Linked DNA regions of Homo sapiens: regions 2, 3, 4 and 5 are each linked to region 1. Evidence: promoter capture Hi-C in 16 types of primary human blood cells and fetal thymus (Javierre and others, 2016). All regions are on one chromosome and are shown on one strand. The core of a region is centred on a gene start or on the middle of the fragment in contact, and the rest is flanking DNA. Distances in the headings are between cores, read along the strand shown. Region 1 holds the start of TGIF2 (TGFB induced factor homeobox 2). Region 2 holds the start of CNBD2 (cyclic nucleotide binding domain containing 2). Region 3 holds the start of RPN2 (ribophorin II). Region 4 holds the start of NNAT (neuronatin). Region 5 holds the start of PHF20 (PHD finger protein 20).

The links. The method cuts DNA at HindIII sites, captures the fragments that hold promoters and counts their contacts. A CHiCAGO score of 5 or more calls a contact.
Region 2: a contact is called between the fragment with the promoter of CNBD2 here and the fragment with the promoter of TGIF2 in region 1, in 5 of 17 cell types (fetal thymus, total CD4 T cells, monocytes and 2 more). The highest score is 6.6, in fetal thymus.
Region 3: a contact is called between the fragment with the promoter of RPN2 here and the fragment with the promoter of TGIF2 in region 1, in 2 of 17 cell types (monocytes and non-activated CD4 T cells). The highest score is 7.6, in monocytes.
Region 4: the fragment with the promoter of NNAT here is called in contact with the fragment with the promoter of TGIF2 in region 1 in 1 of 17 cell types (neutrophils); the score reaches 5.8 in neutrophils.
Region 5: a contact is called between the fragment with the promoter of PHF20 here and the fragment with the promoter of TGIF2 in region 1, in 2 of 17 cell types (M2 macrophages and non-activated CD4 T cells). The highest score is 5.9, in M2 macrophages.

What each region holds. Positions count from the first base shown.
Region 1 is chr20:36,571,332-36,576,981 of GRCh38, reverse strand. TGIF2 (TGFB induced factor homeobox 2) reads right to left here and starts at 3,385. Exons shown (of 3, transcript NM_021809.7): 1 at 3,237-3,385. It overlaps TGIF2-RAB5IF (TGIF2-RAB5IF readthrough), which reads right to left and starts at 2,467. Exons shown (of 5, transcript NM_001199535.2): 1 at 2,347-2,467. It overlaps DLGAP4-AS1 (DLGAP4 antisense RNA 1), which reads left to right and starts at 3,707. Exons shown (of 5, transcript NR_109939.1): 1 at 3,707-4,070; 2 at 5,439-5,541. RefSeq lists silencers at 3,029-3,198, 3,269-3,358, 3,389-3,708 and enhancers at 4,209-4,268, 4,887-5,439. The HindIII fragment of the contact is 13,842 bases long and covers 1-5,257 here.
Region 2 is chr20:35,964,605-35,970,208 of GRCh38, reverse strand. It overlaps CNBD2 (cyclic nucleotide binding domain containing 2), which reads right to left and starts at 1,619. Exons shown (of 12, transcript NM_001365709.1): 1 at 1,396-1,619. The coding sequence starts at 1,446. It also overlaps the pseudogene LOC124904982. The HindIII fragment of the contact is 7,355 bases long and covers 1,089-5,604 here.
Region 3 is chr20:37,177,701-37,183,205 of GRCh38, reverse strand. RPN2 (ribophorin II) reads right to left here and starts at 3,876. Exons shown (of 17, transcript NM_002951.5): 1 at 3,837-3,876. The coding sequence starts at 3,849. MROH8 (maestro heat like repeat family member 8) reads left to right here and starts at 3,658. Exons shown (of 25, transcript NM_152503.8): 1 at 3,658-3,817; 2 at 3,819-3,983. The coding sequence starts at 3,726. RefSeq lists a silencer at 3,601-3,650 and enhancers at 3,201-3,758, 3,771-3,820, 4,171-4,250, 3,759-4,318. The HindIII fragment of the contact is 7,782 bases long and covers 481-5,505 here.
Region 4 is chr20:37,517,968-37,523,657 of GRCh38, reverse strand. It overlaps NNAT (neuronatin), which reads right to left and starts at 2,408. Exons shown (of 3, transcript NM_005386.4): 1 at 2,255-2,408; 2 at 1,220-1,300; 3 at 1-991. The coding sequence starts at 2,326. The coding sequence ends at 899. BLCAP (BLCAP apoptosis inducing factor) reads left to right here. Exons shown (of 2, transcript NM_006698.4): 2 at 4,308-5,690. The coding sequence starts at 4,484. The coding sequence ends at 4,747. RefSeq lists enhancers at 3,336-4,199, 4,200-5,063. The HindIII fragment of the contact is 15,256 bases long and covers 1-2,849 here.
Region 5 is chr20:35,769,512-35,775,280 of GRCh38, reverse strand. PHF20 (PHD finger protein 20) reads right to left here and starts at 3,266. Exons shown (of 18, transcript NM_016436.5): 1 at 3,202-3,266. It also overlaps the pseudogene LOC124904972. RefSeq lists silencers at 1,520-1,814, 2,819-3,198. The HindIII fragment of the contact is 4,645 bases long and covers 1-3,561 here.

The sequences.
Region 1 (5,650 bases), core at 2,136-4,635:
TATACTCCTGGCACTTTGGGAGGCCAAGGCAGGTGGATCGCTTGAGCTCAGTAGTTCAAGACCAGCCTGGGCAACACGGTGAAACCCCATCTCTACAAAAAATACAAAAATTAGTTGAGCACGGTAATGCATGTCTGTGGTCCCAGCTACTCTGGGGGCTGAGGTGGAAGAATCGCTTGAGCCCGGAGGCAGAGGTTGCAATGAGATGAGATCACACTACTGCCCTCCCATCTGAGAGGCAGAGCAAGACCCTGTCCCCCTATCCCCCCGCAAAAAAGTCCTAAAATTGACTATAGTGATGGTTGCAAACATACCAAACCTGCTGATGAGTATACTTTAATGGGTGAATTGCATGGTATGTGAGTTATATCTCAATAAAGCTGTAAAGGAAAAAAATCCCACCCCCAGGTTAGGATAGTGAAGTCGGATTTGGACCAGGCCTCTCCCCACCCCCTCTTGTGAGCTGTATACTGTCTTGCCTCCTAGGTCTCCCAAGGGCCAGTGAGAACTCTGGAAACTACAGATCACCATGATCCTGCAGCAGTCCAAGTAATATTTAAGGAGCACCTACTGTGTACCTTGCAGTGAGAGAGGTGAGTCATCTCTCTACTGGTTGCTTCTTGGACATTCTCCTTTGTCAGGCCCCTTTAGCCTGGTCCTAGACTCAACCACTCAAAATCCAGGTGAATGAGCAAGGCCCACCCTCCACTTGGCACTGTAACTTGGACAAGGATCCTCCCCTTTCTGGGCTTGAGTCCCCTCTTCACCTGTCAAATGAAGGAAGGATTTTCCCTAGATAACCCAACTCAGCTGCTCAGTCCCTGGACAAAGTTCTGTTTCACACGTGCAACAAAGATTTTCTTTCTTTCTTTCTTTCTTTTTTTTTTTTTGAGATGGAGTCTCGCTCTGTAGCCTAGGCTGGAGTGCAGTGGCGCAATCTTGGCTCACTGCAATCTCCATCTCCCAGGTTCAAGCAATTCTCCTGCCTCAGCCTCCCGAACAGCTGGGATTACAGGTGTGTGCCACCACATCTAGCTATTTTTTTTTTTTTAGTAGAGACAGGGTTTTGCCATGTTGGCCAGGCTAGTCTTGAACTCCTGACCTCAGGTGATCTGCCCGCCTCGGCCTCCCAAAGATCTGGGATTACAGGTGTGAGCCACCCCGCCCAGCCAGATTTTCATTTTAAAAGCAAAAGTTCTAGGCCAGGCTGATGCCAGGATCTCAAGGCTCCTCCCTTCTCAGCCTTTTAACAGCTCCCCAGCAGGCCGGCCAACAGACTCTGGCATCTCCCAGGTTTTGTTTCCTCTTCTTGGACCCGAGCCCAGATCTCTGGGCTGGCTAGGCCAGGCTTTCGAGGGAAGGGTCTACCCTTTCAGTCAGGCCACCTGGAGGTGAGACAGGCACTGGTTAGACGTGCCACTCCTCAGAGAGCACCACTGCAGGCTGCTTTCTGAGGTCAGACAGCCATTTCTAGGTGGCCAGGGCAGCTGGGATCTGGGCTCAGTGATGCAGCCCTGGCCGGCTGTGAGAAGTACTCAAGGTTATCTGTACAAATTCCACCCTGGCTGCCAGCCAAGTCTGTCTGCAGGGTTCCCCGGGTGGGCCCTGGGGAATGACCCCTCAGTCTACACAAACTTCTCCACCTCGGTGTTCCGCCACACAGGGCCATCTGTAGTCTGGGAGGCTTCCCACATATGCACCCCACACCGCACCCAGACACACTCACGCCAGGCAATTAACCAACAGCGCTAGGATAACTGGCCCGGACCCATCGCTCAAGCCTTACAAACCCTAGGGTTTTCACCGACGCATACAGCACGCACACGCACAGCTTACAGACCCCAGGCCTAGCACGAACAACTGTGACCCACACAACTAGCCCAACTTCTGTACCCGCCCACCCACGAACTCCAACCGACCCGGCCACCCCCGATCTCTCCGACAGGGAAAACTCCAGGCGTCATCACACTAACAATCAGTTCTACCCTCAGTGACCTGTGGCAGCAACCCCTCGACACAACATCCCGTACACCCTCCTACAGACTCCCACGACGCCACCTGCAGCCACTCCCGCACGAACTTTCTGACAACTCCCCTAGCTGGTCCCGACACTCCCCCGGGCCGCGCACTCACGCCCGCATTCCCAGCAGTTCAGACAAAGCGCGCAACCTCCCCCGCGGCCCAGACCGAGTCGGAGCACATGGCTCCTGGGTCGGCGAGGAATCGTCCGGCGCTCGGGGCGCTTGCACCCCACAGTCCCCACACCCCGGGCCGACTCCGCGCACCAGCTCCCGCGCGGGCCCGCCATCCCGGTGGGACGGGGGCTCTGGAAGAAAGAAAACTCACGTGTCTGTCCCGGGGCAGGAAAAAGTTTGGTTCCCACCCCTACTCCGGCAGTTCGGGGCTGGCCGACTCTTCGGGGCGCGGGGACGGCGGAGCGTGCGCGCTCGGCTTTGTGCTCCGAACTGGGCCCGGAGGGGGAGGGGAGGGGAAGGGAGGGGAGGGGGCTGGGCTCCCACCTCCGCGCCGCCCCCCCCCCCCCAGCCCTGCGCCCAGACTCCATGTTGGCCGCCCCCTGCCCCGGAGACTACGCGCTTCTCCCGCGGGAGGCTTGGATCACCTTCGGCCTGCCCGAGGGTCCCGGCGCGAACAAACTTTCTCCGGGGCGCCGGCCCCACGCGCCCCGCTTCCTTGGCCAGCCTGGGAGTGACAGATGCCTCGGAGACAGACTTTCCTTTGTTCCAAAGGAAAGGGGAACTCGCGCGGGCTCCCCAGGGCCCCCCCGCTCCGGGCCCTTCCCGCGGCCCCCACCCCCAGCTGTCACTCTCGGCCGCCCCCTGTCCGGCTCGGCGGCGGGGGGGCCCTGCTGGCGGTTAGCAACGTGCACTTTTGAAACCAAACAAATCCGTCCCCCCGCGCGCTCACTCAGGTCCGGTGCAGGATCGGCCCTCTCCTGGGGTGGGATCCTATGAAGCTGGGCCCCCCACCAGGGCCCCAAGCGGGCTTCCTCCCGGGGGCTGGAACAGTCCCCCACCGGCCCCCGGAGCGCAGCGCCGTCGGGACTCACAAACACCCCCCGGGGGCCGTCGGGACTCACAAACACCCCCGAGCTCACACACCCCCTACCGCACGCGCCAGGACGACGCCCCCTCCCCGTCCGGCCGAGAAAAAGAAACTTTCCAAGTTGTCCGCGCGCCCCCACCCCCATCTGGCCCTCTGCTGCTCCCTGCACTGACTTTTCCCAGCGGCTTTCGGGTCCACGCGGCCTCCGGCTCGGCGCGGGGCGTCCCGGCGGGGAGCGGGGGGCGCCGGGGGCGCGCGCCGCGTACCTGCCCGGCCTGACACTCGGCCTGACAGCTCGCGGCTGGAAAGCACCTCGCGGCCTGACGTCAGATCCCCTCTCCTCCCCCCGCGCCCTCTGCGCCCTCCCCCACCCGCCCGGAGGGAGAAAACAAACTTTGTGCGGAGCGCGACGAGCTGCGCCCACCCCCCGCGGGGCGGGCCGTCGGCGCCGAGGGGCTTCGCCCCGCCCAGCGCGCCCGGAGGGGGCGGGGCCGCGGGCACCTTCTTCCTGCGCCCACCCCGCCCTCAGGAATGCTGCATGGCCTACCCATAGCGGCGGTGGGAGCCTCCGCCGGGGAGAGCCCGCTCGGGGGCAGGAAGTGGCCCGGCCCTCCTCGTGGAGGGCGTTTCCGGAGCGCCTACTGTGCTCCTTGCCGGGGTGGGGGTCGTTACCGAGTGGGAACTTCTGCAAATCCTGACTTTTGTCACTTCGCGCCCCGCACAAGATGTCCTGCCGGCGGTGCGATTGGTCCCGTTGCTTCGAGGGGAAACTGAGGCCACTTAGTCCGGGCACTTACCCGCAGCTAGTTAAGGACTAGGCTCTGATGGAGACGCTTGTTACGACCTCAATGGCCTGTAGAATCTGGGAGGCCGCCTCCGACCTAAGCCCAAAAAGCACATGATCGGGCTCACAGGGGGCGGCCAGAGGTGAAAACAGCCAACGCTTTACAACGACGCTGTGCGGGGCACTTCGTGTGTGTCATCCCGTCTCATCCTCGGGTGATAGGGTATGTGTTGTCCTATGTAAGTCTCTGGCTTACTCATGAGCCGCAGAGAGGTTCTTGATTTGCTTTTGTCACACAGTCAACCGGTATCATTCAGCCCAGGTCGGTCGATAGTGAAGCCTGATCCCTTACCCCTTGTGCCCGGCCTTAAACGATCAGTCCAGGAGCTCCCGGAGTTCCTGTCTGGTTTCTTTTTCCTCTTCTGCCAGTTACACCCTACTCCAGAAGGTTTTCCTTGGCCTCCCCCACCCCAGTCAGTACATTCTTCCCTGCTCTCTGCTGTGGGTACCACATACTGTGATATTTCTGTTAACCAGCCTCTTAGGGCATCCCCCCACGCCCCCCAGCCCTGTACCCGGACACGGCTAGGTCCAGATATCTAGGGCCCTTGAGCTTGGAAATCGCTTTGAAAACAGCTTTTGGACTTAATTACCCTTTAGCAATGGAGAACTCTAGGAACAAAACTCTTAATTTTTTCCAAACAAGCCTTAAGCCAATCAGAATGCTGATTAAAGATTGTTAAGGTTTCACCTGGACACCCCATAGAAGCCAGACTTCCTGCAAATGTTAAAAACCTCCTCACGGCAGCGGGTGAAATGTCAGTGGCACTGCCTGTTGCTCTCCATTTCACAGACAGGGAAAATAAGGCCCAGAGTGTGGGTCAGAAACAATTTTTTTGGCCGGGGAAGTGGTGCTCCCCCCACGGCCCTGTGAAAGAAAAAGCCACGTCTGGGTTGCCTTAGGTAAGAAATGTAAAACCAATGGGCCTTGGCCTCTAGGAAATGTATGGGACAGGGACCTTCAGAAGAGGGGAGCCCCAGGGGGAAATGGGTGCGACCAGGTGAGCCTGGAGAGGGGGCTCTGGTAGTGGCTGCTGAGCTTGAACTCCGCACTAGGCGTTTTTCTCCTGTATGCGTAAGAGCCACATTCTGCCCTTTCTGGGGAAGCCACTGGGGGCCTGGGCTAGAGGAAGAGACCGCACCGTAAATTGTGCCTGCAGCAGCCCCTTAGACGAGTGTTTCCCAAGTCTGGTGCTAGATGTGGTTGGGAAAATGGAAGCGGGGGAGTGCTGCCTCCTCCTCCACCTGAGAGCTGCATAACAAAGACCTGGAGCCCCTCCTCTCTCCTGGAGGACGGGGTAGTGGTGGAGGGAGGCTGGTAGCCGGTCAGATTTTGCACGTAAGCAAGCTTCACAGATAAAGCCTAAGTGCAATTAGAGTTTGAGAATTACCGTGTCAAGTTTCTGAACTAGTAAGTATCAGAATTTAAAATGTGTAGATTCTCTAAGACAGTAATTCCACTTCTAGGAATCTGTCTTTTGAAGTAGCTGTACAACAAAGATAAATGCTTATAGAAGATTGTTCTTTGCAGAACTGTTCATTCGGGAAAATTGCAAACAACTAAATACCCCTCACCAGGAGCTGGCCCATTATAGCAACTCTGAGACCTCTCTACCGCAGGCTCTTAAAATGGGGTAAGTTGGTGCGCGCTAATGTAGGGGCATGACCAAGGTATATTTATTGACAGCTTACAGTGTCCCAACAAGGAGGGACTTTGGACATAGTTGGTGAGAACTTTAGTGG
Region 2 (5,604 bases), core at 370-2,869, 610 kb after region 1:
GTAATTCAAAGGGAAAGTTCAAATTACCTATAAATTGTGAAAATATTGTTTTTATTCATTTGTATTTATATTTACATTGTTTGTAAAGAGGGGGTTTCACTTTGTTGCCCAGGCTGGTTTCCAACTCTGGCTTCAAGTGATCCTTCCACCTCAGCCTCCCAAAGTGCTGGGATTACAGGCATGAGCCTTCATGCCCCAGCCAAATTGTGAAACCATTTTTAACATTGCTAGAAATAATGGAAATGGAAATTAAAGTAATAACATGATACTATTTTGCACTTATCACTGGGAACTGGGAAACATGGTACAACCATGTTGAAGAGCAATTTGGCAACATTATATAAAGTTGAGGATGTGTGTACTTCACAATGGAAGAATTGTATGTACTTTATATGTCCTCTTCAGAGAAACATACATGTACAAGGGGATAGCCATGAGGGTAATCATGGCAACATTGTGTGTAACAGTGAATGGCTGAAAACAAATGTTCATTAGTAGGGATCGAAGGGATCAATACATTATGGTTCAGTCACAGGATTGAACACAGCACTAAGTCTGTGTGTGTCAATGTGGATAAAGCTGAAATGATTTTGAGTGGGAAAAAAGAACTATGATGCTATTTATGGTATCATTTTTAAACAGTGTGCCACATACTATATATTGTTTATGGATACATACACATGTGATAATATATAAAAATATAAACAGGAAGGGTGACACCAACTTCAGGAAAGTGGTTACTATTAAAGAGAAATAAAGGGGCATGGGATGGTAAAGAGCTTTCCCTACACCTGTAATGTTCTATTTCTTAAAAATTAGATATCTATGGAAATATGGGGAAAGGTACTTTATGAATAAAATTAATACTTACTGAGTACAATTTACTATTGTCAGGCATTATCCAAAGCACTATTCTGATATGTAAATCATTTAATCAGTAAATTTATGCAGTAGGTACTAGTATTATCATCTCACTTTACAGAGGAGAAAATAAAGGCACAGCAAACCAAGCAACTTGCCTGGGGTCACATGACTAATAGGTGATAGGGATTTAAACCTAGGTAGTCTGGCTCCAGAGTTCACAAGCTTAACCTATGACTCAATGTTGCTACCCTGACTCTATCCTCCCTCGTTCTCTCTGGATCTCATAATAGCAGGAAGAGTGGGTACAGAACAGGACTCAGTGGCTCTGAGTGTGGCTTATGGCTTGCCCAGTGTGGGGGGCTGGTAGGCTACAGGGCAGGGGTCCCTCCTTTGTGCCATGCTGTGACTCCAAAAGGTACAGGATGGCCACCATTCATCCAAGACCCCTCCTACACCTGCATCGACCTTCCTCAAAACACCTGTCTGTTCAGTCTTCTGCTCTTCCCTCCCAGGGCCCTTGCCCCTCCTCACCAGTTCCTTCTTCAGGAGCTGCCAGGCATAAGTTACCATATGTCTCCTCATGGTTCCTGTGCAGGCAAATGGCACAACTAGCCCCTTTGCCTTTCAAGGGGAGGACTACAAATTTTTCCCCAAAAATCCAGTAATACTAGAAACAAATAGATTTCCTCAGTAACAAGGCAAGAGCTCCACTCCACTCCTCCTACCATACCATCAGCTACTGGAAGCCCTGCTCTGAGAAAAATCATTCTCAGAATCTCCTAAGGTCACAATGAAAGATTCTGGAGGCAGGGGACACAGGGATTGGAATGTGGGAGTCTAACATTTATGGGATACTCACAGGCATTATCTCAGCTAATCCTCACAACCACCCAAACTTTTACTCAACTCCATACATAGGAGACTGGGGCTCAAAGTAGCTAAATGGCTGCCAGAGTCCTGGTGAGACAGGAGAATGGCACAACCCTGCTGACCAAAACAGGATCTAGGACCCCCTAGCTGTCCCCATCCCTCATTAACATAAGACACTCCTACCAGTGCCATGACAGTGTACAAATGTCTTGGCAATGACCAGGAAGTTGCTACCTCTTTCCTAGAAAACTCTAAAAACCCACTCCTTAATTTGCATTAACCTGCCCCTTAATTTGCATTAGCCTGCCCCTTAATTTGCATGTGATTGAAAGTGGGTAGGAATGCGTATACTACACTTGATCTCAGCCAAAAGGCTGAGAAGGGATTAGAGATGAGCATAAATACAGTTGCCAACATCTCATACACTGGGTATCGACTCCGGATTCATTGCCCATGAGTTAGCCCTGCCCCACAAGGAGAAGCACTATTCAATAAAAGATTGCTGTCTAACACCACTGGCTCACCCTTGAATTCCTTCCTTGGGCAAAGCCAAGAACTCTCCTAAGCTAAGTCTCAATTTGGGGGCTCACCTGTCCTGCAAAGATAGGGCTTTTTTGTTTTTTGAGACACTGTCTCACTTTGTTCCCAGGATGGAGTGCAGTGGCCCAATCTCAGCTCACTGCAACCTCTGCCTCCCAAATTCAAGTGATTCTCCTGCCTCAGCCGCCCAAGTAGCTAGGATTACAGGCGTGTGCCACCATGCCCGGCTGATTTTTGTATTTTTAGTAAAGACAGGCTTTCACCACGTTGCCCAGGCTGGTCTCAAGCTCCTGACCTCAAGTGATCCACCCACCTCAGCCTCCCAAAGTGCCGGGATTACAGGCATAAACCACCACTCCTGGCCAGGGCCTTTTTTTTTTTTTTTTTTTTAAGAAAGCAGTGTAGCTAAATGTCAGGTACACTTGCTCTCCATTTGTAGCATCCAATTAACAGAAGCAAGGTCTGGTCCAGCCTGGCCAATGTGGTGAAACCCCATCCCTACTAAAAATACAAAAAAATTAGCCGGGTGAGGTGGTGGGCACCTATAATCCCAGCTACTCGGGAGGCTGAGGTGGGAGGATCACTTGAACCCGGGAGGCAGAGGTTGCAGTCAGCCAAGATTGTGCCACTGCACTCCAGCCTGAACGACAGAGCAAGACTCTGTCTCAAAAAAAAAAAAAAAAAAAAAAAAAAAAGCGGGAGGGGGAATTGGCATAAATGGCATGCAGAGGAGGGAATGAGCAGGTGGGAGTCTCCATGACTCACTTTGGTGCCTTATCTACCGCCTGGTCGAGCTGCCACCATCTTGGGCAGAACTAGGTTGTAAAGTGGCCTTGTCTCGAGATACTCTCCAGGTGGGGCAGAGTTTCCTGGCAGGCATACTTTTGGTTGTAAATTGACTATTGTCTCTCAAGGCAATCTGGTGGGAGAGGTTTCTACTCTGGAGCTTTTAAGTAAGCACACAGATACACTTGCTCTAGGAGTGTCTGGTGAAGGGAAAGCAAAAGGTTATAACTGCATTTCTAATCAGCTAAGTAGGAAGTGGGGAACAGAAGAAAAACACAAAAGAGAAAGAAGAAAAAGATGATTTAAAAAGATAACTCATTCTCTATCTCATAGAAAAATGGGTGTACTTTGTTACAGCGGGAGGCTTCTAGGCTGGGAGTAGGTTCATCCAGCACCTTAGCCCAGGGACCACTCTGAGACTTAGAACTTGGAGGCCCTGGAACGTGGGTGCATAGTACTGTCCCATAAGTCTGGTTAAATCAGGACAATAAAAAAAAAACTCAGCAAAACAGAAGACCTCACCCAAATCAAGTGTCAAATATTGAATGGAACTTGGTGACTAGAACTCAAATCTCTGGAGTCCTTCTAAAGATATAGAAAAATATAGGCTCTAAAGTGCTTTTTTCTATTAAAGATGACAATTGAGTATCTCAATTTGCTCTTGCACCAGGATCCTCAGTAGAAAACTGTGATTTCAAGCATCACCTGCTCTGCCATTCCTATCCCGTGGGGTATATCTGTTAACTCTCCTCCAACTGATAGGTAGACAGAAGGACACTGAGTTCAGCAAAGATGGCTGGACAGCTGAGAAGAAAGACAAAGGCCACTCTTGGGGTGGGACAGTAATCACACACAGAGGTGAGAAGGGACAAAACTGGTTTTTCCCCCATACCATGAGAAAAGATGTAAAGAATTCAGAGAGAGAAAGAAGAGAAAGTTTTAGAAAGAGAGACAGAGAGATGAGGTATGGAGTTTTTGCCTCCCCCACTGCAAACCTAGTCTTAAGGAAGGAAATATAAGAGGATCCCCTTCAAAAGTGTAGGGGGCTTCTGAAAGAAACAACTGGGCCTGGAGAAAGCAAGAGAGATGGTAGGAGATGGCTATAGGCAGGAAGGGTGTCCCGTCAGTCCTCTGAACTGCCTGAGGATCCAAGAGTGACAAGGAAAGTATCCAGGCTCACAAGGGGCATCAGATGATGCCAGTACGACCTGATGAGACCCCAAAAATGTTTACTGCCAACCTCACCTCTTGCCAGCTGTGGTTGTACAATTTCTCTAGGAATTAGATCAGCTTTGGGGAAGAAGAAGCAGGAAGTTTGGAGAGCTATGAATGGGCCCAAGATGAATCAATAAGCCTGAAATTATATCCACTCAAAATTACTGGATTGGATCTCAATTTACCTGAAGACATCCTAAATTCAATTATCTGCAAGGAGGTGGGCTGGGGATTCAGAGTCACACATTTAAGTCAGTTCTAGAAACTAAGAAAGTTTCATTTCTCTTACAGTTCCTGATTTTATAACTGTAACTATTACAGGGTAGAATGCCAAAAAGAGCACTGGTCCTATTCCTATGTGATCTTAGGTAAGTCACTTAACTACTTGGGGCCTCATTTTCATAATGTATAAAATGGAGTTCGATTCAATTCCACAAACAATTTATGAGAAGATTCGGCCAAGCGCGGTGGCTCATGCCTGCAATCCCAACACTTTGGGAGGCTGATGCGGGTGGATCACCTGAGGTCAGGAGCTCAAGGCCAGCTCGTCCAACATGGTGAAACCCAGTATCTACTAAAAATACAAAAACTAGCCCAGTGTGGTGGCATGCACCTGTAATCCCAGCTACTCGGGAGGCTGAGGCGGGAGCATCATCTGAGCCTGGGAGGCGCAGGTTGCAGTGAGCCAAGATTGCACCACTCAAGCCTAGGTGACAGAATGAGACTCCGTCTCAAAAAAAAAAAAAAAAAGAGAGAGAGGGAGAGAGAAGATTCTTATTGTTTTGCTGATTATAAAAGCTATACAACAAATGCTTACAAAGCATATGAAGGTGAATAAGATGTGGTCCCTGCTTACCAGGAGTTCACAATATGGTGGGGAAGTAAAATCCTCAGAGAAAGTCTTGCTATAATAAAGCTATGAAAGATATATGAGGCCGGGCATGGTGGCTCACGTATGTAATCCCAGCACTTTGGGAGACCAAGGTGGACAGATCACGAGGTCAAGAGATTGAGATCATCCTGGCCAACATGATGAAACCCTGTCTCTACTAAAAATACAAAAATTAGCTGGGCTTTATAGCGGGAACCTGTAGTCCCAGCTACTTGGGAGGCTGAGGCAGGAGAATTGTTTGAACCTGGGAGGCAGAGGTTGCAGTGAGTCGAGATCATGGCACTGCACTCCAGCCTGGCAACAGAGTGAGACTCCGTCTCTTAAAAAAAAAAGATATATGAAGAGGTGGTTGGGTGCAGTGGCTCACGCCTATAATCCCAGCACTTTGGGAGGCTGAGGTGGGTGGATCACGAGGTCAGGAGATCGAGACCATCCTG
Region 3 (5,505 bases), core at 2,627-5,126, 610 kb before region 1:
CTGGCACATAACAAATGCTATATCAATGTTAGCTACTACTTCTACTACTATTATTATTGTTGTGCTTATATCCACTCATAGCAATCTGTACTTCTCTGTGGGATTTTCTACAACTTTAACAGCGTAATGTCTGATTTCTCTGCTAAACTGTAAGTTCCATGAGGATAAAGACTGCTTCTTTTGTTCATCCCAGTATTTCCAAGTCTTGCACACTGCCTGGCACATAGTTACTGAATAAATATTTGCTGAATAAATGAAAAGAAAAATTAATCCCCATCTATGATGCCCCAGGGGACAGGAAGCTGCAGGAGTGGTACATTTCTACTTCATTTATTTAAAAAAACAAAACAAAAAACACTTTTGAATGGGCTGCTTCTTGATAAAGTGCATTGTCTGGCACCCAAGTAACAGCAGTAACAAATAATCACTAGGCTAACATGAGTGGCCCTAAATCCTTTGCCTTTAGTGTTAAATTAAGCTTGAACTAGAATCCTTGAAAAAAGGCACTATTGGCCAGCGGCACTGGCTCACTTCTGTAATCCCAACACTTGGGGAGGCTGAGGCAGGCGGATGCTTGAGCCCAGGAGTTCAAGACTAGACCAGGCGACATGGCGAAACCCTTTCTCTACAAAAAAGAAAATACAAAAATTAGCCAGGCATGGTGGCGTGTGCCTGTAGTCCCAGCTACTCGGGAGGCGGAGGTAGGAGGATCACTTGAGCCCAGGAGGTTGAGACTGCAGTGAGCTGAGATCACACCATGGCACTCCACCCTGGGTGAGAAAGAGAGACCCTGTCTCAAAAAAATAAAAGACAGCTGGGCACAGTAGCTCACGCCTGTAATCCCAGCACTTTGGGAGGCCGAGGTGGGCGGATCACTTGAAGTCAGGAGTTCAAGACCAGCCTGGCCAACATGGTGAAACCCTGTCTCTACTAAAAAGACAAAAATTAGCCAGGTGTGATGGTGGGTGCCTGTAATCCAAACTACTTGGGAGGCTGAGGCAGGAGAATCACTTAAACCCAGGAGGCGGAAGTTGCAGTGAGCCGAGATCGCACCACTGCACTCCAGCCTGGGTGACAGAGTGAGACTCCATCTCAAAAAAATAAAAATAAATAAATAAAATTAAATTAAAAAAAGAAAAAATCTATCACGTGGTGTATTCATCAAATGTATACTGAGCTACTATGTGCCACACACTACTTTAGGTGTTAAAAATACAGCAGGAAACAAAAGAAACAAAACTCCCACCCTCAAAGAGCTTCTATTCTAGTGACAAAAGACATCACATGAAATAACATTATTTATCACATTACAAAGTAAGTGCTATGGAAAAAAATAAAGTACAGAAGAGATATTTGGGAAGGGCTGCATTTTAAATACGGTAGTCTATGAAGGACTAAGAAATAAACATATTGAGTACAGATCTGAAGAAGAAGCAAGTCATAAAGATATCTGGTGGGAAACTATGCTAAGAAGAAAAACCCAATATGGCCAGGCGCAGTGGCTCACACCTCTAACCCCAGCACTTTGGGAGGCCAAGGCAGGGGGATCACCTGAGGTCGGGAGTTCAAGACAAACCTGGCCAACATGGTGAAACCCCATGTCTACTAAAAATACAAAACATGAGCCGCACATGGTGACTTGGCCTGTAATCCCAGCTACTAGGGAGGCTGAAGCACGAGAATCACTTGATCTGGGAAGCAGAGTGGGCAGTGAGCTGAGATCGTGCCACTGCACTCCAGCCTGGGGCTCTGTCTCAAAAAAAAAAAAAAAAAAGAAAAGAAAAACCAAATGCAAACATTCTGAATCAGGAGTATGTACACATACAGTGTTTTTTGAGATCAGCAAGGACAGTACAGCTTGAGTGGAATAAGCAAAGGGTAAGAAGTAGATGAGGTAACAGAGGTAGCAGAGGACAAATCCAGAGGGCCTTGTATACCACCGTAGTGGAAGCCACTGGAAAGTTCTTTTTTTTTTTTTTAGACAGAGTCTCGCTCTGTTGCCAGGCTGGAGTGCAGTGGCGCGATCTCGGCTCACTGCAGCCTCCGCCTCCCGGGTTCAAGCGATTCTCCTGCCTCAGCCTCCCAAGTAGCTAGGACTACAGGCACGTGCCACCATGCCCAGCTAATTTTTGTCTTTTTAGTAGAGACGGGGTTTCACCATGTTGGCCAGGATGGTCTTGATCTCTTGACCTCGTGATCCGCCCGCCTCAGCCTCCCAAAGTGCTGGGATTACAGGCGTGAGCTACCGCACCCGGCTGGAGACCACTGGAAAGTTCTAAGCAGAGGAGTGATTTGACTTACACTCTAATGGTATTACTGTGTTGAGAATAAACAATACTGTGTGGAGAACAGACCATGCAGGTGCAAGGACAGAGCAGGGGACACCAGTTGGGAGACTACCGCCATAATCCAAGCCAGAAGATGATGGTGGCCCAAACCAGGGCAACAGCAGTGAACATGATGAGAAGTGATGAGAGTTAGTCTGGCTAGAATTCAAAGTCAAAGCCTATCAGAAACTGCTAATGGACAGAAAGACCTAAGAGAGAGCGGAGTCAAGATACTAATGCTGAATCCCCAATGCCTTGTGCACAGGCGGGTACCCAATATATGAAGATCTAGTGAATGGCTGCGACTAGCATTTTCCCACCTAGACCGTAAATTCCCCTAAAACAGCACCTGTGTCAGAATCCTAATCTTCTCACTCCATGTTAACGAGAGCAGTAACTTTTCTGACTAAAAGTTGAGCACTTAATATGTTAGGTATGCCCACGCTATGCTGTGCTTTGCACACACCAAATCATTAAATCCTCACAACATCTAAGCAAGGTGGCTATTTTCTGCATTTCACAGACCAGGAAAGTAAGGCTCAGAAGTAGTTACCTGCCCTAGGACACATCACTGAAAATCAAACTTCAGGCAATTTGAATCCAAAGTCTGCTTTTAACCACTTTACTATCCTGAACTTCTCAAATAATGAAACGGTGAGCCACTGACTCATTCATGTGTCACCCTGGGCAAGTAAGTTCCCTTCCGTGGGATTCCAACTTCTCATCTGTCAAATGGTAGTAACAAGAGTACATGCTTCCAAAGTTACGATGAGGCTACATGAAATTCCACCCTGCACAGCGTCTACTCAGTAACTTCCAATGCAGTTAACTTAGTTCTTACCTAGGGCCATGCACTGTTCTAAACTAAGCACGAAGATTATTTCACTTAATAAAGCAACTCAACGAGGCAGATAACGTGACTAATTTGACTAACTTATTTTACAGATGAGAAACTGAGGTGTAGAGGGGTTAAGTAACCTGCTTTGGGTTACACAATGAATACGTGGCCGACTGCAAGTTTGCACCTAGAGTGTCACTTGAGAACTTATGCTCCAGGCTCCCAGAGAGAAGTGAGGGTTTTCTTTGCCCCTTTCACTGAATGGGAAACTACAGCACAAAGAAGGACAATCTGCCCAAAACCTCACACGGAGTAAGGGGCAGCGCCGGGACCAGAACCTTAGGCCGCCTGGCCCAGAAGCCCGCGCGAGTGAAATGAATGAGGCCAGACCTAGGCTAAGCGCGTCCGCGGTCCCCACGGCTGAGCCTCGGGGCGACCCGTAGCTCCGCGCTGCACCCCTCCCCCAGGCACCAACCCCGCCAGGTCGCGGGCACTCCCACCAGCTCGCAGCCCTCCTTCGGACCCTCGATCCGAGAGCGCCCCAGCCAGAGCTTGTGCCCATGCCCCTGTCCCGCAGGGGAAGGGGATCCCGCCTGGCCGGCTCTCGAGCGGCGACTAGTAACCTCCCGCGGGCGACAGCCCTCTCCCCAAAGCCACGCGCAACTCCTCACCCGGCGGCGCCATTCCTCCGAGCAGGTCCCGCCGGAGTCCGAGCCGCGGGCTGACTTCCGCTCGGGAAAGTGGCTCCAAGAGCCCGCCACAGGGGACGCCAGGGACTCGCGGCAGGCTCTGCGGGCCAGGATGAGTTCTAAGCACAGGTCAGTGTCCGCGGCCCCGCTGAGCTTCGACGCTTCCAGCAGCCGCGGCCGGGATCCCAGTCCTCCCGCTCACAGGGCCTTGCAGTTCCCGAGGACAGACCCGCCTCTCCCCCGCGCCCAGGCCCACTTGGAACCGACCGTCTCGCAACGCTCCTATTCCGGGAGCTACCGGGACGCGGTTGGGCCAGGCCTCGGGGTGGGCCCGAGACGGGGCCGCTTCTGATTGGCCTGTCTGCTGTCACTCACTCGTCTTTCTGCTGCCCGGCCCATTTTAAAGGAACAGGAAGGGTCTCGTCGGGAGGGGATAGCTTAGAAGGGATTTTTTTTTCCTCTTTAGAAAATTGTGGCAGTTTCTGGCCGGGCGCAGTGGCTCACGCCTGTAATCCCAGAACTTTGGGAGGCCGAGGCGGGCGGATTACCTGAGGTGAGGAGTTCGAGATCAGCCTGGGCAACACGGTGAAACCCCGTCTCTACTAAAAATACAAAATTAGCCGGGCGTGGTCACACATGCCTGTAATCCCAGCTACTCGGGAGCCTGAGGCAGGAGAATCGCTTGGACCTGGGAGGCGGAGGATGCGGTGAGCCAAGATCGCGCCATTGCACTCCAGCCTGGGCAACGAGTAAATCTCCGTCTCACCAAAAAAAAAAGAAAAAGAAAATTATGTCAGTTTTTTCCAAAGATTATCAGTGGGGTTGTTAATAACTGACCTACGAGTGACGTTTTATCTGATTTGCAGAGCAATGCAGTGACTCATAGAGAACATATTAGGCCAGTTTTACAGGCTCAACATGGAGGTGGCTCATCCAGGAACACCGCTCTAATAACTAGCGCCAACTACTGAATGTTTACAGTATAACCCGACACTGTGCCGAACGCTCTACAAGCATTATTTCTTTTCTTTCCTTTTTTATTGATACGGGATCTTGCTCTGTCGCCCAGGCTGGAGTGCAGTGGTGCGATCACAGCTTACTGCAGCCTCGACATCCTGGGCTCAAGCAATCTTCCCTCCCGCCTCAGCCTCCGGAGTAGCTGGGACTGCTGCCTTGCGACACCACGCCCAGCTAATCTTTAAAATTATTTTTGGTAGATACCGCGTCTCGCTTTGTTGCCCAGGCTGGTCTGGAACTCGGGCTCAAAGGATCCTTCGGCCTTAGCCTCCCAAAGTGCTGAGATTACAGGCTAATCCCATTTTAAAGAGAAGGAAACAGATTTGAACCTAGGCAGCTGACTCCAGAATCTGTGCTTTTAACTACAGTTTTATGAACATATAAAGTATGCACAATATAACTCTTATTAACGTTATTATTGTCCCAAATGTTATCCCGCATGGGAGAGAGTCAGTTCTTTCTGTGTCTGTTATGATAGCCACTAGCCTTATGTGGATATTTAAATTTGAATTTAAATGGATTAAAATTAAGTAAAATTTAAAATTCAGTCTCTCATTTGTACTAGCCACATTTCAAGTGCTCAGTAGCCACAGATAACTAGTGGATATCAGATTGGACCACTCAAAATTATAGG
Region 4 (5,690 bases), core at 1,159-3,658, 950 kb before region 1:
GGGACACTGTGCGAGACAGGGGAGGTACTTTTTTTATTTTTTGTAGAGGTGGTCCCTGTCCTCCAGGAGCTTACAATCTAGCTGGGGAGACACAACTAATGCACACTTAAACAATCAGTACAATTAGCGATTACCACAATATTGACCACAACTGCATGAGACCAGGGAAAAGCAAGATCAGTGAGGGGCAAGGGGGGTTCAGAGAAAGTGTTTTAGTAAAGGTGGGATTCATTTACTTTTACTGCTTGAATAGTTCCAAATCAAGTGACACATTATTTTGGAGTAGGGTGGGCTTGGGAGGCAGTGAGGAGGAAAGGGGAATCGAGAGAGCAAATGCAGCGAGGCTGGAATGCAAGTGCCCTGGGCAAGGGACAGCGAGAGGGCCCCACTGTATTTCTTAACCACCCTCCTTCCTCAACTGTGCCCTCCAGTCCCGCCACACAGGCACGCGGTTGGTGCTGCACCAAGATTCAGGGCGTCGGCTGGCGATGTCAGAATGTCCATTCTGCTGGCTGGTGCGGTGTTTTGATTTCCATGGTGGGGCCTGCTGGCATGGCCCTGGCTTCGGGGCTGGGATGGTGCTGTCCCGACTTTGTCCAGATCAGAATGCGGTGCCTATGCCCAGATCTCAGGGGTCTGCTCCCCCTATCCCCCCTCCTCTCTCGACCCTGCCCCTTAGTGGGACCGGTGCAAAGGGGTTGGGAAGGGATCTGGTATCTTCGTCATTGTCGGTACTGCTTCTCCGGGGGTCTACTGGCCCCTCACTGACCTTGCCAAGTGCTCCTCTGGCGAGGGAACACAGGGGACCCCACATTCCTGCGCGGCACTGGCTCCCGTGCTGGCCGAGATGCACAGGAGCACCTGATGATACGGCCGCCCAGGGCTGGGAGCTGGGGCCTCAGTTGGGGGCTCGCTGCCTGCGCTCCCCCAACACCTGCCGCCCGGTCCGCGACACCGTGTATGCCAGCTTCTGCAGGGAGTACCTGAACACCTGCGACGAGAAACCCAGGACCCACCCTTAGTGGAGAGCACCCACAGCATGTCTGTGGTGCTGCCGTGCCCACCCCCGCCCCACCCCCTGCCCCGCCCGCCCATCCAGCGTAGGCTGGAGAGGCGGGCGCGGGCGCAGCTTGTCCACGAGTCAGGGCAGCTGGAGCTTTTCCAACTGTGCTGAGAGCTGCATGGCGGCAAGCTGATTGGACCCACAACTTAGGTATACCTCACTTCTCGCAATGGGCTGTGTCCCTGGAGGATTTCGAAAAGCGAATCCTACCCAGTAAATGCAGCATTCCAGGAACACCTTGAAGGAAATATGCGATTCCTTTGGCAAAGGATTCCTTTAGCAGGGAATTCTTCCTGCAAAGGGAGCTTTTAGGGTAAATGATTTTATGGGCAAAGCGCTTTCTTCTGATTTATCTCTTTTTACACCAAGCGCTTTTGCCTCTTTTTTATTTTTTTTATTATTATTTTTTTTTTTGTAAAGCAATTGTCCTTTTTTGGAAGTGCTTTTTTTCCCCTTCTATTTTTCTCTCGAGGGGCTTTTTCCTCTAATTTTTTTCTTTAAAGCGTTTTTGCCCGATCCATTTTTTTCCGTTAGCTCCCTTGTCTAATTTTTTTCTGCAGTGCGTTTTTAATCTAATGCATTTTTTTCTGCCAAGTGCTTTTCTCCGATTTATTTTTCCTGCAATGCGCGTTTTTCTGTTTTCCTGTGAACTACTTTTTCTCTAATTCGTTGTAGGGTTTTTTTTTTTTGCGAAGTAATTTTTATTTTTTCTGAGAAGTGCCTTTTTCTAACTTATTTTTTGTTCCACCCCCGCAAGCGCTATATGTTTTTTTAAATAAAATTTCTCCGCAATGCGCAATTTTTTAAGGTGGAAAATTTTCACTCTGCGAGCTGTAAAGTCTTTCAACACAGTAGTGCCCCGCCTCCCTCCTGGGGTCGAGTCCGGGTGTAGCGGGTTTTTCTTACCGCGTAGGTCGCTAAATGCCTGGGTGATCGTCCGCAGCGGTCGCCCGCCGCGCCCCGAGTCTTTGTTCCCTGGCAGGCGCGGGCGCACTAGGGAGGGTCAGCGCGAGGAGGACGGCGCAGGGAATGGGCAGGGGGCGCGCGGTGCCGGCAGCGGCACTTGGGCAGGCAAGGATCGCGGCAATCGGAATAGGACGGGTCCGGGAAGCGGCAATCGCGACGCAGTCTTGCGGGTTCTAGGGGCGCGAGTTGGGAACCCTCTCCCACCCGAAACCCCGTCAGACTTACCTGCAGCAGCACGCGGAAGATGTACCAGCCGATGATGAGCAGTTCAGCCGAGGCCGCCGCCACTGCCGCCATGGTTCCAAGAATGGTAGGTGGGTGGTCGAGAAAGAGGGTTTGCCGAGATCCGCTGGTCTCGGAGTCCGCTGTTGGGCGCACTGCCGCAGCCGCGGTGGCCGCGCCTTAAGTACCCGCCCGCCACCTAAGTGCGCATGCGCGCCTTGGGGGGTGTTTATGAGGAGGGGTGGCTGGGGGCGCTCCTCATTCGCCAGGAGAGGAAAAAAATAATCCATCTGCTCTTTCCATACCGACCCCCGCCTCCTGAGTTCCATCTTAGCCCCCTTCCAGAAGATTCCGCCGTGCTTGCTTTTGGATTTTGCTTTAAAATGGAGGGGTACCACGACTCTGGGTAGAGTACAGGGCGAGAATGGGGGTGCAGGTCTCTTAGTGTGGCGCCCTTCTCCCCAGTCCCTGGCCTGCAAATTTGAGCTCAGTCTCCGGTGCCACTCCAAAGCCTACCTTGGGGATGGATGGAAAACCGAAATTAGGGAGGGGTCATCTGCCCCATAGAGCAAAAAACGTGGTGCCCCTTTCAGAAGCTTTGGCATAATAGGCCCGTGCTCGGCGCTCTTTTCCTGATACTGAATGAGTTTTAAGCCCAGGTCCTCTGCTTCATGAGGGTGCCTGAGCGCGTAACCCGTCTGATTCTTTACATCTCTCTTACGGTAGCGAGGAGATGAGAATCTGCGGTGGAGGTCGCTACTGTAGGGAGCTGAGCCAGAGCACTGCGCTTTGGGCGCAAAAGCAGTAGTCACCCGGTATCTGTAGGAGGGATACAGGAAGGATTGGCGCCCTTCGTATGCACGGAAGGAATGAGCTCTACGGAGAAGTGGTTGGAATATGCTTGGGGATAGTTTTCTGCTGGACAGGTCGTTTCGACCTCAGTCTTCCGCTCCCCTCCCCCAAGCCCTGGTAGGTCGGCCTTAGCCAGTGGGGTTCTTTGTACCCGTTGCGCTGTGCGGCTGGATCACCGAACGGGGTTACGCTACCGCTACCGGAGGGTTGTGGCTACCGCAGCCCCGTTTCCAAGTGAGGCGGGTCCCTTTTAGACCGCCAGTCTTGTGGGTCCCTCGCACAGCGCGGATTTTCGGGCGGGAAGACCGGAATGCGGTTTGTGAGTGTGGTCCCCGCGCACCGGTAGCCAGCCGAAAGCACCTCTTTCCAGCAAGCTGCCTGGCCCAGGGACCAACTGGCATTTGCCCCTATGTGGATAGAAAATTAATTTTCATTAAAAGCTCCCAGAGGTCAGGTTCTATACAGTGCCAGCAGCAGATGGAGGTGTAATGATCCAAACGAGTTCAGTTTGGACAAAGTAGCATAGTGACTTTTTTTCTACATTGACTTTCGGAGAAGTTGGCAGATTCTGGCAAAGTGACGCTGGGCTGTTTGAAAAAGGCAAGCTTAGCCTAGGCTGCCATCTTAAAATATTTCGAGGCTGTAGCTGCCTCAGGATCCTTTGCCTGTGGTCTGGTGGCCGGCAGTGCCCCGCTAACAGCTTTAACTCTGCACTTAGTGCCTGAGCACCTATGGCTGTGAGAGATGCTAGATACAGAACCCTGTCCTTACCACGTGGGGGCACAGCAGGGAGCCCTTGGTCGTCCTTTGGCAACCACTGGGCGGTATTGTGAGGTCTGGGCCCCTTGAGGACGGGCTGCAGCCCCAGGAGGCGATACATGATCTCTGCTGGGCAGGGCCCAGGCAAAGCCAGCCCACTGTGTGAAACCGTGCCAAAGAGCCCTCTCCCCGATCCCCCAGGAGAAGCCCCGGGGAGACATCCCAGGAAGCTTCCCGAATTAGTGACTTGGAGAGGAGTAGAACTTTCACGGGTGGGCAGGGAGGAAAGGGCATTTCACATTTGCTGTTGTTAACCATGATCCATTTTCCCAAATAAGTATACATTCTGTTCCTGTTTTTTTTTTTTTTTTCTTTTTTTTTTTTTTTTTTTGTCTGTCTGTCTGTTCTTTGTCTGTTTGTCTGTTGTGTTGACTTTTCTCTTCAGGATCCCTGCTGCCTTGGTGATCCCGGGCTGACAGCCAGAGAGCACAGCGGCTCAGCTCCTGGAGAGTGAGGGTTGAAGAAAGCGGAGGGCAGCCGCCTGCGCCCGCTGGCTCCCATTAGGTCGGTTCCTGCAGCGGTGCCCGGCAGCCTTGGTGAAGGCCCTGCCCGGCAGAGATCATGTATTGCCTCCAGTGGCTGCTGCCCGTCCTCCTCATCCCCAAGCCCCTCAACCCCGCCCTGTGGTTCAGCCACTCCATGTTCATGGGCTTCTACCTGCTCAGCTTCCTCCTGGAACGGAAGCCTTGCACAATTTGTGCCTTGGTTTTCCTGGCAGCCCTGTTCCTTATCTGCTATAGCTGCTGGGGAAACTGTTTCCTGTACCACTGCTCCGATTCCCCGCTTCCAGAATCGGCGCATGATCCCGGCGTTGTGGGCACCTAACGGCCTGCCCTGTTAGCTTTCCAAGGAAGCAGAAGACGGGAGGGGAGGCATTGACATAGGTCATAAAGCATTGGAGTTTCAAATCCCGCAGCCTCGCGGGTGTCACATTCCTGACGGCGCCTTTTTGGCCTGTGATGTTTTATCCTTACAATGTGAATAATGGCACTGACCGGTGCTTTTATTGTAAAGTCCTATAGTCGTGGGTGGTCTTGTGGTTGTGTGTGTTCTGTCCCCATCTAGGTCCTGGCTGGCCGCATGACCACCCCTCTCGCCTCATTACTGTGAGGAGTCTGGGTCCATCCTGGTCAGCTGCCCCAATGTGACCTGGGGCAGATAAAATGCCAGTCTCATTGTCACCTCTGTGACCCCTCCTTGTCAGGGTCTCCTTCCTTCCCAGAATGTTACTGACTCCTCAGTCCCTCTTCTGGTTTCCCTTTATTTCTCTTCTACCCTTTTCCTTTTTTGGGGAGTACCTGTCCAAGACAGGGCTCATTTTTGCACTTATCTCGAATTTGAAGAGATTGCTGACGCCCGAGAGCCTCGCTTTTTCATCCTTCTTTCCTTGTTCAGCAGGCTAGACAGAAACATGTCTTGACTGTTAGTTGTCCACAAATCTTCAGTATTTTCTCCACTTCATTTTTAAGAAAGGAAGCAACAGATAGATGTTGCTCTTTCACCTGGGTGTCTGGGCTCAAGCTTTCCCGCCCAGCCTCACTTCCTTTGCCCTTCCTCCTGCCTTTCTCAACTGTCCCAAGGAGGGGGCCTCATTGTGTCTCCCGTGCATGCTCTGCAGCATTGAAGTATGGTGTGTTCACGTAGTTCTAGCAGTCCCCAGCTGAGTGAGTGGGAGAGTACCTGTGTGTTTCGTAACGGCCTTGATCCCCTTGATAGATGTTTGGATATTTTTTGGTGTGCCCTGTGTGTGTGTGTGTACAAATACATG
Region 5 (5,769 bases), core at 2,017-4,516, 800 kb after region 1:
AAAAGTGTAGTTCAGTAACATCAGCATCACCTGCAAATCAGAAATGCATTCAGGTCCCATCCTAGATCTACCAAATCAGAATCAGCATTTCAACAAGACCCCTGGGTGACTTACATGCACATTCAAGTTTGAGAAGCACTGGTGTAGAATACTTTAAGGGTGCACTGTACGGCAGTACACAGATAAAGTATCAAGCAGCCAAAGAAAGAGACAAAGTATCTGTTCACTTTCAGTATACTATATTTTATTAGGTACTGCTCAGACAGACCTCCAGTGATTTTTATAAATTTGGTACTTCCTAATGGCCACATCATCTAACTGTGGGATCTATTTCATTTCTGGAAATAACACAACTTAGTTCTAGGGCTTTCATGCACATGAAATATAAAACAGCTTAGTTGTTCTGAAAACATGACAATGGTTAATTTTATTCAAGTCCCAACACTGAGTTCAGAGCACTTCTCCATAGGCCCCATTAATCTCTCCAGGTTTCTGGGAGTATCATTAAATCCCTCGGCATCCTTAAGAAGCAGGTGCTTAGCAAACATCCAGTTTCCAAATGAGAGTCAGAGGGGCTTGATCCTGAAAGTGTAGTATTTTCCTGCCTTGTCCTACTGGTATAGCTTCTTGGACCTAAAATCTCTCTCCTGCTGAGGCCTCATGCAGCTGCACACTCAAGTACTTCCCAAAAGGAAGAAAGGTCAGAGGTATCATTATCCCCAAGCACTTGGAATTCCAGCTGTGGAGAAATTAATCTGGTTGGGGGTTCAGGCTGAGAAGCCCTGAATAAGATCTGTAAAGGCAGAAGGAAACACAAAAGAAAGAACTATTGAGGCTCTTAAGAGATAGGAGGTCCCAGATATTTGCAGATTTTAATGTGAGGATTGGGGGTAAAGATTGACAAGAGGTTGGCCGGGCTTGGTGGCTCACGCCTGTAATCCCAGCACTTTGGGAGGCGGAGGCGGGTGGATCACGAGGTCAGGAGATCGAGACCACAGTGAAACCCCGTCTCTACTAAAAACAAAAAAATTAGACGGGCGCGGTGTGGTGGGTGCCTGTAGTCCCAGCTGCTCGGGAGGCTGAGGCAGGAGAATGTCGTGAACCCGGGAGGCGGAGCTTGCACTGAGCCGAGATCGCGCCACTGCACTCCAGCCTGGGCGACAGAGCGAGACTCTGTCTCAAAAAAAAAAAAAGAAGATTGACAAGAGGATGATTGGGAGAGAAAAATATCCATTTCCCCACCGACACCCCAGGGACAAGAACAAAAAGAGTATCCAAGGGATTCCTCCAAACGACATCTTTTCTTCATAAAAGATAGTAAGAAAGCCAATATAGGGAAGAAGTTTATGGGCTAGAAGCAGTGCTGGAAAAATCTGAGAGTTTTGTTTGTTTTTGTTTTCCAGCACAAGGAGATAAAGCAAAGGAGAAAACAGTATGCACCTAAACAGAATCTTAGGTCTTCTAGAAGTAAACCACCAGGAGGATTCAGAGTCCTGTGATTAACCAAAGAAATGGTTTCCACTTTGAATCCAGCGCTGGGGGCCCAGGCAGTCCTAGACTTGAGGCCACCTCCAGCACAAGGAAAATCTTTATAGCCACTAGGTAAACAGAACAATTCCAAAGAAAGACAGAAACCAGAAAAATGTTTGGGGATTGGGCAAGCCAAGAGAGAAGAGATCCTGCTAGCGGAAAGATAAAAGATAGGCCTATCAAAAACAATGTGCTGGTAGCCCTTTAGGAGAGGAATCCTTCCCTGGGAGGAGAGGAGAATTCAGGAGGTGTGACTCTGGGAAGTGTGCTCAGAAGAAAAGCCCGCAGAAGCACAGAGAAAAGTGCCGTGCTGAACAAAGATACGCACTCGCCAGAGGAAGAGGAAATGGGTGCACTGACCAGACTGGGGAAAGCACCTCAAGGGGAGTGTGGCTCCAAAAAGGGAAGGAAACTGAGGAATGAAAATGTCTTGGATGACAGAAAAGCTAAACAGGGTAGGAAGGCATGCTCAAAACCACAGACCACTCGCCACCTGGAAATGAGAGGACTCACAAAAAGGTGTGCCCCCCAAATTTAAGAAGCATCTGGAAAGTGGCTGCACTCTGAGAGTTGTATAACTAAAAGGGGTTCACCTCGTACATTTGGGGGGCACAAGAAACAAATATACTCCCAGATATGAAAATGAGTCTCCTTCAGGAAATAAGGTAGTTTGATTTGGGGAACACGTGAAAAGTGTGTAACCCCAATAATACAGTCTCGGGAGAAGGCAGTGAATTCCCTTATTTGTGAAACTGGAAATAAGTACCCATAAACTTCAAAATTTGGACATTGTTTTCGGCCCAACCTCAGGTTTGAAGGGCTGAGGAAAGGAAGTGGCCCCTAAATGTAAGAAATTCCAGAAGGCATGCTGTCAGATTTGGGACCTGGAAAAGGGGAATTCTTCCTTGGAGTAGAGGGGATACAAGAAAGTATCCCAAAACTTTAGCTAATGGACCCCAGATCTGAGGACCCGATAACAGGGTGAACCTCTAAATTGGAACGGAAATGCAGAATCAAATTGGAGGCCCGAAAAAAGGAATGTGCTCCCACTTTGGGGGCTGACGGAAGAGGGTACGCCCTAAATTTGGGGGGGGGAGGGCTTTTAGAAATTTAGATAAAATTCCAGAGCTAGAGCTTAAGAAAGGGGGTGTGCCGCCCAGTTTTCAAAACTATAGAGAAAAGGGACACTCCCATATTTGGGGTCTTGAGAAAGGAATGTGCTCCCCAGAATAGGATAAAAAAAGCCAATTTTAAAAAACATATTCCCAAAGCGCAAGGCAATAGCAGAGGCTGCTGATGAGGCTCTAGGTGCCCACACAGCTCAGGCTCGGGCCCTAGGGCTTACCCGCACCCCCAACACGGCCCGCTCCGCGCCCCGGGCCCGCACCCCACGGCCCAGCCCCCTCGGGCGGCGCTGATTGGCGGCAGCCGCCGCCACTCTTGCGGGTAGCCCCGGGGATTGGGCACCGCTCGCACGCCCGCCACGCTCTCAGCAGCAGTCCCAGGGCCTCCCTCCAGGCTGGGCGAGCGGGGCCAGGCGGGGAGCGGGGCCGGGCAGGGGACCGAAGCAGCGGTGGCGTCCGTCGCCGTCCCCGCCCGCACGGCGCGCGCGCAGCGCGGGCCCGGCCCAACCCGGCCCGGCCGGCCGGCTTCGCCTGGCCGCGAGCTCACCTCACGGCCCCACTCCGGCTGCGCCGCTCCAGGACCAACCGACAGAAGGACTCTGCGTGCTCTGCACCACGTGACCCCCGGGACGCGCCCAGCGTATGCCCCGCCCCCCACACACACGCATCATCGCCACCACCGAGTGACGTAAGGTCCCAGCTGCCCCGCCCCCTGCCCCGTCTGCCCGATCACTGTGGCAACGGCCTGCGCAGGCCACGCCCACTACCCTGACGCGCGGGAAACAGGCCCGCGCCCTAGCAGGAACACGAAGTCCCCACTCACTCGTAATCACTGAGATCACCGAAGCCGGGGAATGGACGCTATCCATCACCCGTTAATTTTGCCACCTAAATGCGTCTCAAAGCTTCCCATTTCTCCATCGAAGCGACCACCATCTCTCTCCAAGATGAAGATGGTTTCCACCCTATTACTCTTCGCCGTTCTAATCCATTCTTCGTACACCGGCAGAGAGGTCTTTTCAAAACGCCATCCCCTGCTCAAAGCTCGTTTCCCTCCCTACTCCGGATTAAGATCTAACTCTTCACCTAGACTATCTACCAGGCTCTTCAAAGTCTGGACCTGACCTGCTGCTTTCTTATCCTCACGAATCCAGCTCCCCCACATTCTCAGTGTCCTTCAACTCCGCTAACAATCCAGGTTCTTCTCATCTCAGAGCCTTTGCACTCATTTCTCCCCCACTTTATCATTAACTCCTAGAAAGGTTTCCAATTGCTGCTAAGGATAAGGAGCTGTATTTTCTCTGGGGACGAAGGTCGGAGTTGAAGCCACCCCAAAAGAATATGAGACCAGGAGCAGTGGCTCACGCCTGTAATCCCAACACTATGAGAGGCTGAGGTGGGTAGATCACTTGAGCTCAGGAGTTCGAGACCAGCCTGGGCAACATAGCTAGACCCCCGTCTCTCCAAGAAATACAACAATTAGCCAGGCGTGAACGTGCGCACCTGTGGTCCCAGCTCAACCTTCTGAGTAGCTGGGACTGCAGGCCCATGCCACCATGCCTAGCTAATTTTTTTTTTTTTTTGAGACACGGTCTCACTGTGTCACCCAGGCTGGAGTGCAGTGGCGCAGTCTCGGCTCCTCATAACCTCCACCTCCTAGGCCCAAGCAATTCTCCCACCTCAGTCTCCCAGATAGCTGGAACCACAGGTGTGCACCTGGCTAATTTTTGCATTTTTTTGTAGAGACGCAGTTTCACGATGTTGCCCAGGCTGGTCTTGAATTCCTGGGCTCAAGCAGTCCACCCACCTCAGCCTCCCAGAGTGCTGGAATTAACACCGTACTTGGCCACTTTTTTTTTTTTTTTTTGAGATAGAGTCTCGCTCTGTAGCCCAGACGGGAGTGCAGTGGTGCGATCTTGGCTCACTGCAACCTCTGCCTCCCGGGTTCAAGCAATTCTTTGCCTCAGCCTCCCAAGTAGCTGGGATTACAGGCGCACGCCGCCACGCCCAGCTAATTTTTTATATTTTTTTTAGTAGAGACGGGTTTTCACCATCTTGGCCAGGCTGGTCTTGAACTCCTGACCTCATGATCCGCGCGCCTCGGCCTCCTAAAATACTGCGATTACAAGCGTGAGCCACCGTGCCCGGCCGAGTTTTTTTTTTTTTTTTTTTAGAGACAGGGTCTCACTTTGTTGACCAGGCTGGTCTCAAACTCCTTGGCTCAAGTGATCCTCCTGCCTCAGCCTCCAGAAATGCTGGAATTACAGGCCTCAGCCAGCAAATCCAGCCTGAGGGGTGCTTTTTAAACCAGGGCTGGAAACTAAGGAGGGTATTGCCTCAGTTGAGGTAGTCAGGGCAAAGAGCAGCCCTTAGGTAGAGACACTGTGGAACCAGGGACAAAAGCTTCAGCTACACTTGCTTGGGCAGTACATGTATTCTATTAAAATTGTAACATGGCTGGGCGCGGTGGCTCACGCATGTAATCCCAGCACTTTGGGAGGCCAAGACGGGCAGATTACCTGAGGTGAGGAGTTCGAGACCAGCCTGGCCAACATGGTGAAACCCTCTCTCTACTAAAAATGCAAAAATTAGCCAGGTGTGGTGGTGCATGCCTGTAGTCCCAGCTACTTGAGAGGCTGAGGCAGGAGAATGACTTGAACCCTGGAGGCAGAGGTTGCAGTGAGCCGAGATAGCACCACTGCACTCTAGCCTGGGTGATAGAGCAAGATTCCATCTCAAAAAATAATAATAAAATAAAATAAAATTGTAACAATACAGAAAAGATTCACATGACCCCTGCATAAGGATAAGCATGCAAATTCATGATACATTTCATACTTTTTAAAAAATCAGCAATTTGAGAATCAGTGCCACTCAGTCAAGTAAGTGCTCACATATAGGAAGGGCCTTCCCAAGATCCTCTGGGTTTATGTTTATTAATATGAAATTGCTCAGATGTCAGTGGCTATGGTAGCACACAAAGAACTTTTTGCCCCCCAACCACAATAATGCCAAGAACTCCAGACTCTGTAGCCCCGTATAAATATAGCATGTTTCTTTACTTATTCAACCTGCATTTACCGAGAGTCAAATTCAAGATGGGCACCAAACACTC